3 separate regions of the Homo sapiens genome follow, and all the other regions are linked to region 1. The links are contacts of gene promoters, found by promoter capture Hi-C in blood cells and fetal thymus (Javierre and others, 2016). All regions are on one chromosome and are shown on one strand. The core of a region is centred on a gene start or on the middle of the fragment in contact, and the rest is flanking DNA. Distances in the headings are between cores, read along the strand shown. Region 1 holds the start of TNFAIP6 (TNF alpha induced protein 6). Region 2 overlaps MMADHC-DT (MMADHC divergent transcript). Region 3 overlaps MMADHC-DT (MMADHC divergent transcript).

What was found. The method cuts DNA at HindIII sites, captures the fragments that hold promoters and counts their contacts. A CHiCAGO score of 5 or more calls a contact.
Region 2: a fragment that was not itself captured here is called in contact with the fragment with the promoter of TNFAIP6 in region 1 in 1 of 17 cell types (total B cells); the score reaches 5.6 in total B cells.
Region 3: a fragment that was not itself captured here is called in contact with the fragment with the promoter of TNFAIP6 in region 1 in 1 of 17 cell types (naive CD8 T cells); the score reaches 5.3 in naive CD8 T cells.

What each region holds. Positions count from the first base shown.
Region 1 is chr2:151,355,542-151,360,290 of GRCh38, reverse strand. TNFAIP6 (TNF alpha induced protein 6) reads right to left here and starts at 2,699. Exons shown (of 6, transcript NM_007115.4): 1 at 2,531-2,699. The coding sequence starts at 2,624. All of the region lies in intron 2 of LOC101929319 (a long non-coding RNA gene), which reads left to right. The HindIII fragment of the contact is 6,797 bases long and covers 1-4,749 here.
Region 2 is chr2:149,604,543-149,609,291 of GRCh38, reverse strand. All of the region lies in intron 1 of MMADHC-DT (MMADHC divergent transcript), which reads right to left. Among named protein-coding and RNA genes, the nearest start is that of MMADHC, 19 kb to the right of the region's middle. The HindIII fragment of the contact is 5,475 bases long and covers 68-4,749 here.
Region 3 is chr2:149,624,505-149,629,253 of GRCh38, reverse strand. All of the region lies in intron 1 of MMADHC-DT (MMADHC divergent transcript), which reads right to left. Among named protein-coding and RNA genes, the nearest start is that of MMADHC, 39 kb to the right of the region's middle. The HindIII fragment of the contact is 204 bases long and covers 1,729-1,932 here.

The sequences.
Region 1 (4,749 bases), core at 1,450-3,949:
GGTCTCACTCTGTCACCCAGGCTTGAGTGCAGTGGTGAGGTCACGGCTCACTGCAACGTCTGCCTCTTGGGCTCAAGTGATCCTTCCACTTCAGCCTCCTGAGTAGCTAGGACTACAGGCATGCACCACCACACCCAGTTAATTGTGTTTTTTTTGGTAGAGACAGAGTTTCTCTATGTTGCCCAGGCTGGTCTTTTTAATTCCTGGGGTCAAGCAATCTGCCCACCTCAGACTCCCACAGTGCTAGGATTACAGGTGTGAACCACTGCATCCCACCTTCCTTTCCCTTCTTTTTCAGATTCAACAATAAAAATAATTGCTTATCTGTGCATTTTTTATTCTCATGATCCATGTAAAATGATTGTAATTTCTTGTCCTTAACTGTGGTTTGTTTTTGTTTTAAGTACTATTTTAAAAATTAGATGATACCAGAGTTAAAATAAGCCTTAGGGATCCTTTACTTCAACCTTATCATTTTACCAGATTGGAACCATAACCTAGAGAATTTAAAGTAAACTTGTCCAACTTGCGGCCTGCCAGGACGGCTTTGAATGTGGCCCAACACAAATTTGTAAACTTTCTTAAAACATTATGAGTTCCCTGGGCCAGGTGCGGTGGCTCACGCCTATAATCCCAGCACTTTGGGAGGCCAAGGTGGGCGGATCACGAGGTCAGGAGATTGAGACCACCCTGGCTAACATGGTGAAACTCTGTCTCTACTAAAAATACAAAAAATTAGCCAGGCGTGGTGGCGGGTGCCTGTAGTCCCAGCTACTTGGGAGGCTGAGGCAGGAGAATGGCGTGAACCTGGGAGGCGGAGCTTGGAGTGAGCCGAGATGGTGCCACTGCACTCCAGCGTGGGCAACAGAGCGAGACTCTGCCTCAAAAAAAAAAAAAAAAAAAATTATGAGTTGCCCAAGACAATTCTTCTTCCAATGTGGCCCAGGGAAGGCAAAAGATGGGACACCCTAGATTTAAAGTGTCCTGTTCTTGATAGTTGCTAACAGATGTATCCCTTCTAATCCAACTATCTTTCCTTCCTAAATGGTTTCTAAAAAGATTATATTGATCCAACCAACTATAAACATCTGTGCTAGGCTGGCTGGTCAAAAATTTGCCCCAGATTGAAGCAATTTGCAATTATCCTGACCCTCAGATTTGTAGCATACATTAATAGACGTTTGAATTTGCTTCTCTCTACCTCTGGGGCAAAACTTCTATTGTCCAGGTTTATATTTTTGTAACATATGACAACACTTTAAAAGACAACTCTAAATTACTTGATTATTAGAGGGTTTGATAATATTTCAAAGTTTATCTGCCTGGATTTAATTCTTACTAGCTTTATGACATTTAAAAAAAATCCTGACAAATATGAGTGTATTTCCTATATTTGACTGTATTCAACTAAAATAAAGAGATGGGCTCATTCCTCTACTAAATTTCAGATCCCGTCTTGGCCAAATGGATCACAGTGAAATTAGTTCACTGGCTCAAGCTGAAAAAAATAGGCGGCAAGGCTGTGCATTACAAATTAGGCTTTTTAATGAAATCCGCATGGTTGCAGTTATTACCAGAGAGAAACATGCTGAAAGGGAAAATATTCTACAACTGTGCTGTTTAGAAAGCATAAAATCAAAATCTAGGTTAATTTCGCCTTCTCTTTATTTCTTTATTCTATGCAAGAATCTATGCATTTTTCCCCAAGAAATTCAATTTTTTTTTACTATTAAACACAATAATGAACATAGAGCAATATCAATTTGTATCATGAGAATTAAAGCATTGTTTAGCATACTGTAATCTAAGGGGTGTTTTGGATTTTCTGCATTTTCCTTTTTTGATCTATTGTTTATCTTCACTGTTTGGCCTGTCTCATTCCTTACATTTAACAAAACAAAATAACAAAAGAAACTTTCCTTGTCTAACAAAAGGGTCAGAAAAGTATTTATATGGATAGTAGAAACAGAAAGAATCAAAGTGGTAAGAATGCATTCAGAAGGAGAAACATTTTTCACTTTTTTCTGTACTGCAAGCTGGCTTGGTCAAAATAGTCAAAATGTTTGAAAAAACTAAGATATAGACTATAGCTCAGAGTCCATGAAGCAATTATTATAAAATTTTCGTAGACTCCAATTTACCTGTTAGGATTCTGAAATCTGATTGCAAATGCATTGACATAAAAACAGAAGACTATATTGGAGTTTCTAGTTGGTTAAAGAAATACTCCTCACTGTACTACTACATCTGCTTTGAAAAGTTTAAAAATATATTTTCATACTGAATATAAATATTAACTGCTATTTTCTACTGAACAATTCACTTTATAAAATGCTATTTTTAAATTTTAGAGGACAAGAACGCTTAAAAAAAAAAAAGCGTATGTATTCCAAAGGCTATCTTTCCTAAGCATTTTCTTTGAGAACATCAGCCTTGTACAGAATAGAAAAAGTTACTGCTTTAAATTTCCTTCTCCATGATTTAAAGAATTGACATTCTCAACAAGAGGCTCATGAGTGAAGGTTCTTACCAAGCCATATGGAGTTATGAAAAATTCCATCCTTGAATCCCCATCCTTGAGTGTCTTCCCATAGCAAGAGAAATAAGTAAATTAAGATGATCATATCGTCAGTTGTAGTGAAGTAACAGCCTGTTAGGGGCTGCTCACAAATTCTCAGAGCAGTGGCTGAAATGTGACTGAAACATCTGGTTTCCACATCTTTTAAATAGTTTTTTTCAACTGTGAGGTCAGCAAGTACTCTCCAATGGCATTTTCCGCTGTAGAGTTACACAATTATCTCAGTGTCTGAAGCAAATCCTCTGACTCATTTGCATTGGCAACCAAAACTAAGGAGATAGAATGATCATCTATGTTTTAAAATTAACTTACTAAGAACGGAGTTCATTTATTGTTAGTCACAAACACTTTTCTGTTAGAAAGTTTGTGTAACTTGATGCAGATTTAGCAGTGATTAAAAGAAAATCGAACTTCAGTAGGAATTTCAAGATAAATCCTAAATGTCTTATTTGCAGTGTCAATTATGGGATATGGGGTTAAACACTAATCTTTTATTGGTAATGTTGGACTGGCTTTTCTAAACATTGTCAAGCCTGTGTAAAAAATTTAAAACAAAAAGTATGCACAGCTTGGAGAATCCTAATTTTTCTCCAGTGATATATGACTTCCTTATTCTCTGCCTGCTTTTCTTCCAGGGTGGGGTCTGTTGCAGTCTTTGGTGTGTTATGGTCAGCAGCTAAATAAATGTATCAGCTCCCAGAAAAGTATTTCAATTTCAGAGCGTCAGGATGTTCCAGCAGCTTTGGGATGTCCTATTATAACACAGTTTTCCCAGGCCACAAATTCTTGAAGTGTTGGGAGAAAGGTGGGTAGACTAACAAAGTTAATAAAAACTTGTCCCTAGCTTCCCTAGACCACTCTAACTTTGAAGAAGACGATCAAGGTAATAGATAATAATTATTACAGTAAAGTCATCATGTCTTCAAATATCCCAAACTTTCCTCTTCCTTTGTGTAGAATCCTTGGGTAACATATCTGATAATACTCCCACTACCGCTGATGCTAATGGCATTTCCTATTGTTCATTGATAGCCATTTATTGGCAACTTTTGATTTTTTTACAAAATTGGTCATTTTTTGCTACTTAGATTCTCTACTTTTGGTCTCAAATTGCTTCCCATTCACTCCTATTATAGCATTCATTTCTCCCATGCTTTCTTAGTCCCTCCAATGATGTTGGAGTTCTTTGAAAAAGCCAACTTGCTAGACATGCTCTGGTTTGAAGTTAGCTTTGAATCCCTTAGACATCTTTGCTTTGAACATCTCAGGTGTGTTCTGGTCTCATCTCTTCTCAAAAGAGCAGTTATGGGGATGTAGGCTGAGAGTACAGAATTTATTGGATGCTCACTGAGGTATACATAAAGTTACTAGCATTGAAAATCTTTATTTTGGACTGGTGGCACATGAAAGATGAGGGAATTGTATCCAAGTTCACAGATAGGGTTAGTGAATTTAAGTTTGTTGCAAAAGAGAAAGGTATAGTTTAGACCAGGTGGGTGTGACTATGGAGAAGACAGGCATGGTTACTGAGAGCAAGATTCATAGGTAGTTGGAAGGAATAAACCATGATATTTCTTTGGAAAGTATAATTATATGCGTATTTTAAGTTTGTGGTTTAGGAAGTAAATATAACTTTAGTTGTGCAGTGCTACAGCAAAACCTTCCCATAGTCTTTCCAATTCTTTTCTTGTCACATCCTCCAGCTGTGCCCTTTCTGCATCTCTCTCAAGCACCTAATTTCCCCCTAGTTCTCATTTATCAAAAATTACTCTCAGGAAAGGGTTTGCAATTAATCTTTAGTTAGGCCAGATAACTAAGAACAGATACCCTTCTGTGTTCATTTGCATTTTAATGAAGCTCCAAGTAGAGCGAAGTGTGAATGTTCAACTTCTTTTAACACGAAAATTTAATGAGTTGCTTTGATGAATTAACCCGATCTGGGGTGGAGGATTTCTTTCTCCCCTCTCCCAACTCTCATGCAGAATATAAATATTTCCCCTTACCTCTGCATAGTGTCTGAAAATCTCATCCTCCATATCATCAAGGAAATAGAGAATAATGCCTAATGATGTAAGTTCTGATTTTGAGGGGCATTCAATAAAGGAAAGAGGAAATGGGGTTTTCATATGGAAAAGATGCAGAGGGTAATCCTGAGGACGAGAGAGAAGAAA
Region 2 (4,749 bases), core at 1,556-4,055, 1.8 Mb after region 1:
ACTTAAGTAACAACAATCATACTAGAGATGGAATAATGAGGCCCCTAACTTCTTCCCCCACAAAGCTTCCAGAATACTGGCAGCCAGACCTTTACCCTCCTGGAAAGAGAATGGAGGAATATTCACTGCAGAACTTGACCAACCCAAGAAAAAAGACTTACATATACTGGCATCAGCATTTCACCAAAAAAAAGCCCACTCAAATCACCCTACAATTGAGCTCAATACTCACAAGCCCCCCAAATAGGACACCAATATTAATCAAGAACCAGCAACCAAGGATTACCAGATAGCTGAAGAAATATGGTACCATGGGAGATGTGACCAAAAAGAGAGTAGAGGAGGGAGATTTTTAAAAGGGAAAAAAATTTTCTGCAGAGAGTCATATTAAAATACCCTCAGAGAATACCCTCAGAGAAAATAAGAGAAAAACAAAAACAGGATACTACCAAATAGGAATATTCTGAAAGGAAAACAGAATTTTTGAAACTTAAAAGTGATTACATAATCAAAATTTCATATATTAAGTCAATTCCATGTGGAAAAAGCATTCTTTTCTATAAATGGTGCTAACTGGATATCCTCATGCAAAAGAATAAAGTTTGATCCCTATCTCACACCATACACAAAAATTAACTCAAAATGGATCAGACACTGAAATGTAAGAGCAAAAACTATAAAACCCTCAGAAGAAAACATAGCAGCAAATCTTTATGACCGTAGATAATGGTTTCTTTTTTAAAAATTGATATATCATACTTGTACACATTTTGAGGGTACATATGGTATTTTGATAGATGTATACAATGTGTAATGATCAAATCAGGGTAATTGGGACATCCATTACCTCAAATATTTATCTTTTCTTTGTGTTTGGAACATTTTAATTCTTCTCTTCTAGCTTTTTCGAAATATACAATAAATTATTAATAGCTATAATTTCCCTACTACTCTATTGATTTTTATAACTCATTCCTTCTGCCCAACTGTATTTTTGTAGCCATTAACAAACTTCCCTTCATCCTCCTCCTCTTCTCATCCCAGATTCTGATAACCATCATTCTACTCTCTATCTCCATGAGCTCCACTTTTGTAGCTCCCACCCCTTGTGTTAGTGTGCCCTGGACATGGGACATGGGACATGGTGTCAAAAGAGATTATTTTGGAGCTTTACAATTTAACGGGTGTGCTCCTGGGTTTCAGAGTTGCTTGAGGCCTGTAGCCCCTCTCTTTTGGCTGATTTCTCCCTTTTGGAGCAGGAATGATAACCCAATGCCTGTACCCCCATTGTATCTTGGAAGCAAATAACTTGTTCTGATTTCTCAGGCTCATAGGTGGAAGCAAATGAGTCTCAGATGAGACTTTGAACCTGGACTTGGGACTTTTGAGTTGATGCTGGAATTAGTTAAGACTCTGGAGAACTATTGGGAAGGTATAATTGTATTTTGCAATTAGAGAAGGACATGAGATTTAGGACCAGAAGGACATGAGATTTAGGACCAGAAGCAGGACGATATAGTTTGAGTATTTGTCCCCACCTGTATTAGCCTGTTTTCATGCTGCTAATAAAGACACACCTGAGACTAGGAAGAAAAAGAGGTTTAATTGAACCTACAGTTCCACATGTCTAGGGAGGCCGCAGAATTATAGCAGGAGGTGAAAAGCACTTCTTATATAGCAGTGGCAAGAGAAAATGAGAAGGAGCAAAAGCTGAAACTCCTGATAAACCAATCAGATCTCATGAGACTTATTAACTATAACAAGAATAGCATGGGAAAGACTGGCCCCCATGATTCAATTACCTCCTCCTGGATCCGTCCCACAGTACTTGGGAATTCTGAGAGATACAATTCAAGTTGAAATTTGGAGGGGGACACAGCCAAACCATACCATTACCCAAGTCTCATGTTGAAATATAATCCCCATGATGGAGGTGGGGCCTGGTGGGTGGTGATTGGATCATGGGAGTGGATCCCCAAAGGCTTGGTGCTATCCTCACAATAGTGAGTGAGTTCCCATGAGATCTGTTCATTTAAAAGTGTGTGACACCTCACCCCACCCCTCTTGCTCCTGCTTTTGCTATGTGACGTGCCTGCTTCCACTTTGCCTTCTACCATGAGTAAAAGCTCCTTGAGGCCTCCCCAGAAGCTAAGCAGGGGCCAGCACCACACTTCCTATACAGCCTGCAGAACCATAAGCCAATTAAACTTCTTTTCTTTATAAATTACCCAGTCTCAGGTATTTCTTTATATCAATGCAAGATTGACCTAATACAGCAATAAAACAAATAACCTGATTTTAATATGGGCAAATGGTCTGAACAGATATTTTTCAAAAGAAGTCATGCAACTGGACAGTAAATACATGAAAAAATGCTTAGTATCACTAATCATTAGAAAAATGCAAATTAAGACTGCAATGAGATATTACCTCATACCTGTTAGAATAGCTTTTATCCAAAAGATGAAAGATAAGTGTTGGCAAGGATGTGCAAAAAGAGAACTCTTATACATTGCTGTTGAGAATGTAAATTAGTAGAGGCATTATTAAAAAAACAGTATGGATGTTCCTCAAAAAAACTAAAACTAGAACTACCATATACTCCAGCAACCTCACTTCCTGGGTATATAGTCAAAGGAATTGAAATCAACATGTTGAAGGGATCTCTGCACTCCCACATTCATTCCAGCATTACTCACAATAGACAAGAGATGAAATCAAGTATCCATTATGAATGAATAGGTAAACAAAATGTGGTATGCATACACAATGAAATACCATTCAGCCTTTTTTTAAAAAGGAAATGCTATCACTTGTGACAACAGAGATGAACCTGGAGGACATTATGCTAAGTGAAATAAGTCAGATACAGAAAGACATGTGGATATGTGGAACCTAAAAAAGTGGAACTCTTAGAAGTAGAGAGTAGAATGATGGTTACCACAGATTGGGAGATTGAGAGAAGGAAGGGAATGTGGAGTTGCTGGTCAAAGGGTACAAAGTTTCAGACAGACAGGAGAAATAAGTGTTGAGATCTATTGCACAGCAGGTGACTACAGTTAATAAAAATGTATTGCATATTTCAAAATGACAGAGTAAATTTCAAATATCTCACTGTAAAAAACAATAGATAAGTAAGGTGATGGCTAGGTCAATTAACTTGGTTTAGTCATTTCACATTGAATACATATATCAAAACATTACATCATAGCCCACAAATGTATATAATTATGATTTTTCAAGTAAAAAAAATTTAAAAATAAAAATATATTTTTGAAGAAAAATAAATAGAAGTAGATAGTAATGATGATTGTACAACAAACATTGAATTATACAACTTAAAATGGTGAATTTCATGGTATGTGAATTATAGCTCAATAAAGTTTCTATTAAAAAAAATAAAATCACCTACAGGGTTAATAAGAAAAGAGAAGGAGGTCTAGGATTAAATTCTTGGCACATTATTAAATTCCCCGTTATCCAGAAGTTCAGCAGAGGAAGAGAAGCCAGCAAAAGACACTGAGCATGACCAACCAGTAAAGCAGAAGAAACAACCAGAAGACTGTGGTGTCATTGAGGCTGAAGAAGAAAGTGTGTCAAAAGAGGTATGCAGTGGTCACCGCTGTCAAATGCTGCAGAACAACCGAGTAAGAGGAGATAATAAATTGACTGCTGGATTTGACAAGTAATGCCAATAGCAGAATAATATACTTAACTTGCCTTTATGATCATTATAAATCTACTTTGTTATTTCAAATTACCAACAATTATCAAAAAGCATAGCAAAAAATAATGTTTATAATATTTGTCACCTTTTTAAAATTTGTAATTTGTGGGAATTTCTTAGCCTAAATAGATATTCGTTTCATACCTAAACAAAACAAAACAAAACCTTAATAGAAGGGCTGGAATAAAAAATTGAGCACATATTCCAAAAATAAGACAAAAAGTCAAAATATGGAAAACAGGAAAGAAAAACATTAGAAGAACAATACAACTCCTATCTGAATAATAGGAGTTCAGAGACAAATACAAATGGAGAGAAGAAAATCATCAAAGAAAGAATCCATGAAAATATTATAGAGTTGAAGGACATGAGTTTCCATATTGAAAGGATCCAGTGAGTACTAAGCATAATGAAGGAAATTAGGCCCACACCAAATGCCATCACTATGAAATTGTAAAACACTTGGTCAGGGGGAGGGTGAGTAGGAACTAGACAATCCAGTAAGAGTCCAGACAGGCCAGGCATGGTGGCTCACACCTGTAATCCCAGCACTTTGGGAGGCCAAGATGGGAAGACTGCTTGAGCCCAGCAGTTTGAGACCAGTTTGGGGCAACAAAGGAAGAACTCATCTCTAAAAAAATTATTAATAATAATTAAAATAATAAAATTTAAGAGTCCAGAAACAAGTTTAAAGGGAAGGAATTTCAAACAAAGTTTCAAGAATCACAATGGCAGAGATTTCTCTAATTCCAATCTGAAATCAGAGAACAATAGAAATATGCTTTCAAAATTTTTATGGAAAATTATTTGCAACCTAGAATTCTATATGCAGTAAAAATTAAAATCATATGTGAAGGTAGAATACGGACATTTTCAGAAGTACATAAATGTCAAAAATTTTACTTCTTATGCAAGTCTTCTCAAGAAGCTAGTGGAGAGTGTGCTTCTCCAACACAAGAGTAAGAAGAAGGAAGATATGAAATTTGGGAAACAAGAATATGATATAGGAAAGAGAAGACTCA
Region 3 (4,749 bases), core at 581-3,080, 1.7 Mb after region 1:
CCTTAAATCCATCTCCCCAAGAGCCTAAAAGAAATGCTTGTGTGGTCAAACTGGTTCCACCATTGGTCTCATTCCAACCAAAGCTCATTAGTTTTACTTTTCCCTTTGGATTTGTGGGTTACAGTTTTATTTGTTGCATAATAGAAGTCACTAGCAGCTTGTATGTTTCTTTACACCTTGGCATTGAATCAGCAATGGATCCATTGCACTTCCTTTATTAAGATTAAGTGGTGGTTTGCTGTATGTCCTTAGACTTGGTTGCCATTTTAAGCATTTATTAGTTACTCTAATTGTAACCTACTAGCCATTCTATTTCTTTCATTAAGATAAAATAAAAAGGAACTTGTGCTCCAGCTTCAACTTTAAAAACCTAGACCTGCACTGTCCAATATGGTAGCCTCTACATATGGCCATTAAGCATTTGAAATATGACTAATCTGAATTCAGAGATGCTGTAAGCATAAAATACACACCAGATTTCAAAAAGTTATTATTAAAAAAGAATATAAAACATCTCTAATTTTTAAAACTGATTGCATGTTGAGATGATAATATTTTTATTATATTGAGTAAAATTAAATATATTATTAAAATTAATGCCATTTATTTTTAATGTGACTGGAAAATTTTAAATTATGAATGTGGCTTGCATTATATTTCTACTGGACAACTTTGATCTAGATATTCAGAAGTTTTTTGAAGATTTTTATTCTTAATGACTTGGGTTAGTCTTGGTTATTTAATTCTAATGTATTCTTTCTTACTGGGTTATTTAAAATTTGTGTATTATCTTACCTCTAGAATTGACTATAATATAATAGTAAATTAAATAAAACTAATTAATGGCTATTAATCATGTTTAAAAGGCACTGACCTGCCAAGTGCTTTCAAAGCCCTTTAGACACCTGCATTAATGGCTCTGTATCATGCCAAATGATACTGAACCAGAAATGCTCTAATGCTGTTCTTGTCTAGAGGCAACCACCTCAGCTTGGAGCTTCACTGAGCATAAAAGACAGCAAGTGATGCATTATATTCCATGCATTGATAGATGTGTTTGGCAAATGTCATAGCACTTTCTTCAAAACTGCATCATGAAATAGAATATAAGACATTTGGAAAGCAGATTTGATCCTAGTACTTGTGATCTATTCTTAAATTCAGCTTTCATTATATATGTAATATAATGTATGGTGTATGACCAACCACCTACATATGTGAGAGGTATTTTTAAAATGAGCGACCACTATAATTGTGGTATACAAAAAAAAAAAGAGAAAATTCTCATAATGAAACTAAGGGAAAAAATGAGAGATGAAAAAGCCAAGTGTAAAAAAACAATAACAACAAAATTCAGTTCACCAACCAACCCTCAATGGCCATTTATTCCATTCATTGCATTGAATAGTAAGAATTATTAAAAAAAAAATTTAACCATAGAAAAGAACTGTCCTTCTGATCTGGAATATACAGTAAGACCTTTATTAAATATCATTGAGTCCAAAGGACCTACAATCCCAAGATGATCCCATTTGGGCAAAGGAAATAGAAACCTGCAAAAAGACAGAGAGCATGCAAGAAAGGGAGTTGATAAAGACTCAACAAGAGAATAGCTGCATTAGGAAAATTGTTCTGCATAATTTTCCTACCCTTCCCTAAGGAAGTGTACCTTATAGTTGTGACAGGATATTCAGAAAAGGAGAAAATTATTTTTCTCCAAGACAAGCTTCAAATACGAAGAAATTTAATAAGAAGAAACCATTCCATGGATTTAACAATGCAGAGATAGTGTGCTTAGAATAACTTAATCTTAAAGATACCCATCTTAAAAAAAAAACTCACAAAGAAGGAAACAAAGAGGTAAATAAATATTGCTTGACATTCATATACAGATGCACTTAGAATTACTCAGTTTCAGTTCATCTTTAAGCTTCCCATTTTCCAAGACAGACAAACTGAAGCACTGAATTTTAGTTGATGTGGCCCAAATTATAAATAGCCTGTGTAAAGACCAGAACTAGAAGTAAATTTATCTCCAATTGCCTTTTTTACTAATTTCTCAGGCAATTTCTTCTCAACACATCCTGGCTGTAAGACTTGCTATTCCTAGGACCACATGAATACTTTTAAGATACCTAACATGAAAGAAATACACTTAACAGAGCCTTTACTGGATAGATGGTTCCCAAATTGAGTTCTTTTTTTTTTTCTTTTGAGACAAGGTCTCCCTGTGTTGCCCAGGCTGGAATGCAGTGGCGCAATTTTTGTATTTTTTGTAGAGAAGTGGTTTCGCCATGTTGCTCAGGCTGAGTTCAACTTTTAAGACATTGTTTTGTAAAATCATGCTGAACTCCAGCCCCAAAATGTGACTACTATTAAACAGTTAATGATATATCCTTCAAAACTTTTTATAAGATGGATACAGTCATACAATTTTTAAAATCAAAGTGAGATTGGGCTATACATAATATTCTACATTTTTCTTTTTTCAATATATTATAGATATTTTCATCTTCAGGCTTTATTATATTTTTAAATCCACATAATTTGCCACTCTACAAATGTCCCATAGTTTTCTCAACCACCACTGTATCAGTGATGATTTATTTAGGTTATATGCAATTTTTCACTATTACAAATAATACCACAGCAATATTATTTGGTTATATTTTGGAACTCATGTAAGAATTTCCTGAGGATAAATTGCTAAAGGTGAAATTTCTGAGTCAATGATCATTACATTTTTAGGGCTTTTTACAGATACTTTAAAAATTACCTTCCAAATCACTTGAGTCAATTTACATTTCCACCAGAAATAAATGACAAGGCCTGTTTTCCTATATCCTTACCATCACCGAGTGCTATCAATTATTTTAATAATGCCTGACCAGAGAAGAACATATCTCAACTTTTATTCAATTTGGATTATTTTTAAAAAATCAAAGTTGGGGATTTTTCTTTTTAAGTTAGTTCTGTATTCTCCACATCCTTGTTTAATTAGTCTTTCCTGATACTATTTGTGAAAAGGAAAATAATAATAATAAAAGTTTTCTGTCTTGAGACTTACAGGTATATTTTAAATACTCATTTGATTCCAGGGATTGGCAAATATAATTCATTGCTCTTGGGTAGACTATTAATTCCAGCATTTTTTCGAACATCTTTGGTTTAGCTTTTTCTCATACAAAGCAGAAATCAATCTTATTTCACATAAAGTACTGGGATTAGGGTACATTTTAGTTTGGCCTGTATTTGGCAAAAATTCAAAACTTTCAGTATTACCCAGTTCAAAATTTCAACTCACTACTTACATGATTTTTCTCTTTAAACAACTTCTGACTTTCATGAACATAGACTCAAATCCAAATAGGGATTATCTCATAAGTTTGTACAAAAATAGGGGAAGTGCTTCGAGATTGCTACAGAAATGTACATCCTACTGGGCATCTAAAAGACAATGTGTGTGAGCTTTAACGAAGCCTTTGAAAGTTTAAAATGCATCAAATTAAAAACCATATCCATTAGAAAAAAATTCTTTCAGCATCTATTCTGTCAATATTTCTGGAAGGAGGTAAAAGGTTTTTATTTAAGATAAGAACACAGTCAGAGATAAATACATTTTCTTTGTAGAGACTAGATATCTCACTGTTGGATATTAATGTTAAGATAAAAGTAAAGCAGATTTGTGCCAGTGGCCATGACAGAAAAGCGAACCACAAAGAAAAAACAATTTTCAAATTGCAAGCAATTGGAATGCTTACAGAGTATCATAAAATCCTGAGGATTTGAAGACAACTTTGAAGACATAAAGTTCAACCACTTATCTATCTAATGTTTAAATCTTCTCCACAGTAAATCGGTCAAATGCTCATTCACCCAGTGTTTAAACATATGCTCTGATAGGGAATGAATTACCTACTGGGGAGCCCATTGCAGTTCTGGGCAGCCGTGATGATTAGTTAGTCCTTCTTGGTATGTTCTACTAAAGTTTGTTTTCTTAGATTTAATATTTATAGATCCTACTTACACGTTGGCATTACATAGGAACTCTTGGCTTGCTAATTCTATACCCTCCCTAACCTCCATTCCTTTCACCTTCCACAGTATGAGCAGAAAAACTAAATCTTCACCTTCCTGGTCTCTGCTTCAGCAAGGGCTTGCCAACATAACCCAGTTCTGGCTAATGAGACATAGGAAAACTCCACATGTGGGTTCTGGGGAAGCTTTTGTCATCCATTCTCTCTTCTTTCTGCCTTGAGTATAAACTTGATTAAGCCAGGATTGCTACTTGCAACCAGGAAGGAGAGTTCACATGTCTAAACCCCTAAATGCTCAGAGCCACCTACCTTCAGACTTAGCACTATTTAGAAAAAGTAAACCCCATCAATCCTGAGGGATTTTAGTCAGGTTTTCTGATGTTTGCATCTGAAGACAAACCTATTTAACACCTATATCATGTGGTCACACAGAAAAGTCAAATACTTATTCCATTTGGTAACACCTCTCGTCTTAATGAAGAGAAAATACTTTACTAAACTGCTACCTGACCCAGGTTGGAGATACTCTTACCTCCAAATGTCAACAACTAGACTATATCTATAATATTATCACAACTACAAAACTATCAGAGTAAACACAAAAGAGAGAATTTAGTTAATGAATGTTGGAGACTCCTGAATTCTGATGTAAGATAATGTAAGCAGTATATTCACTGTTCCTGGTCAATTTCTTCCCTTTCCTAACTTCTCA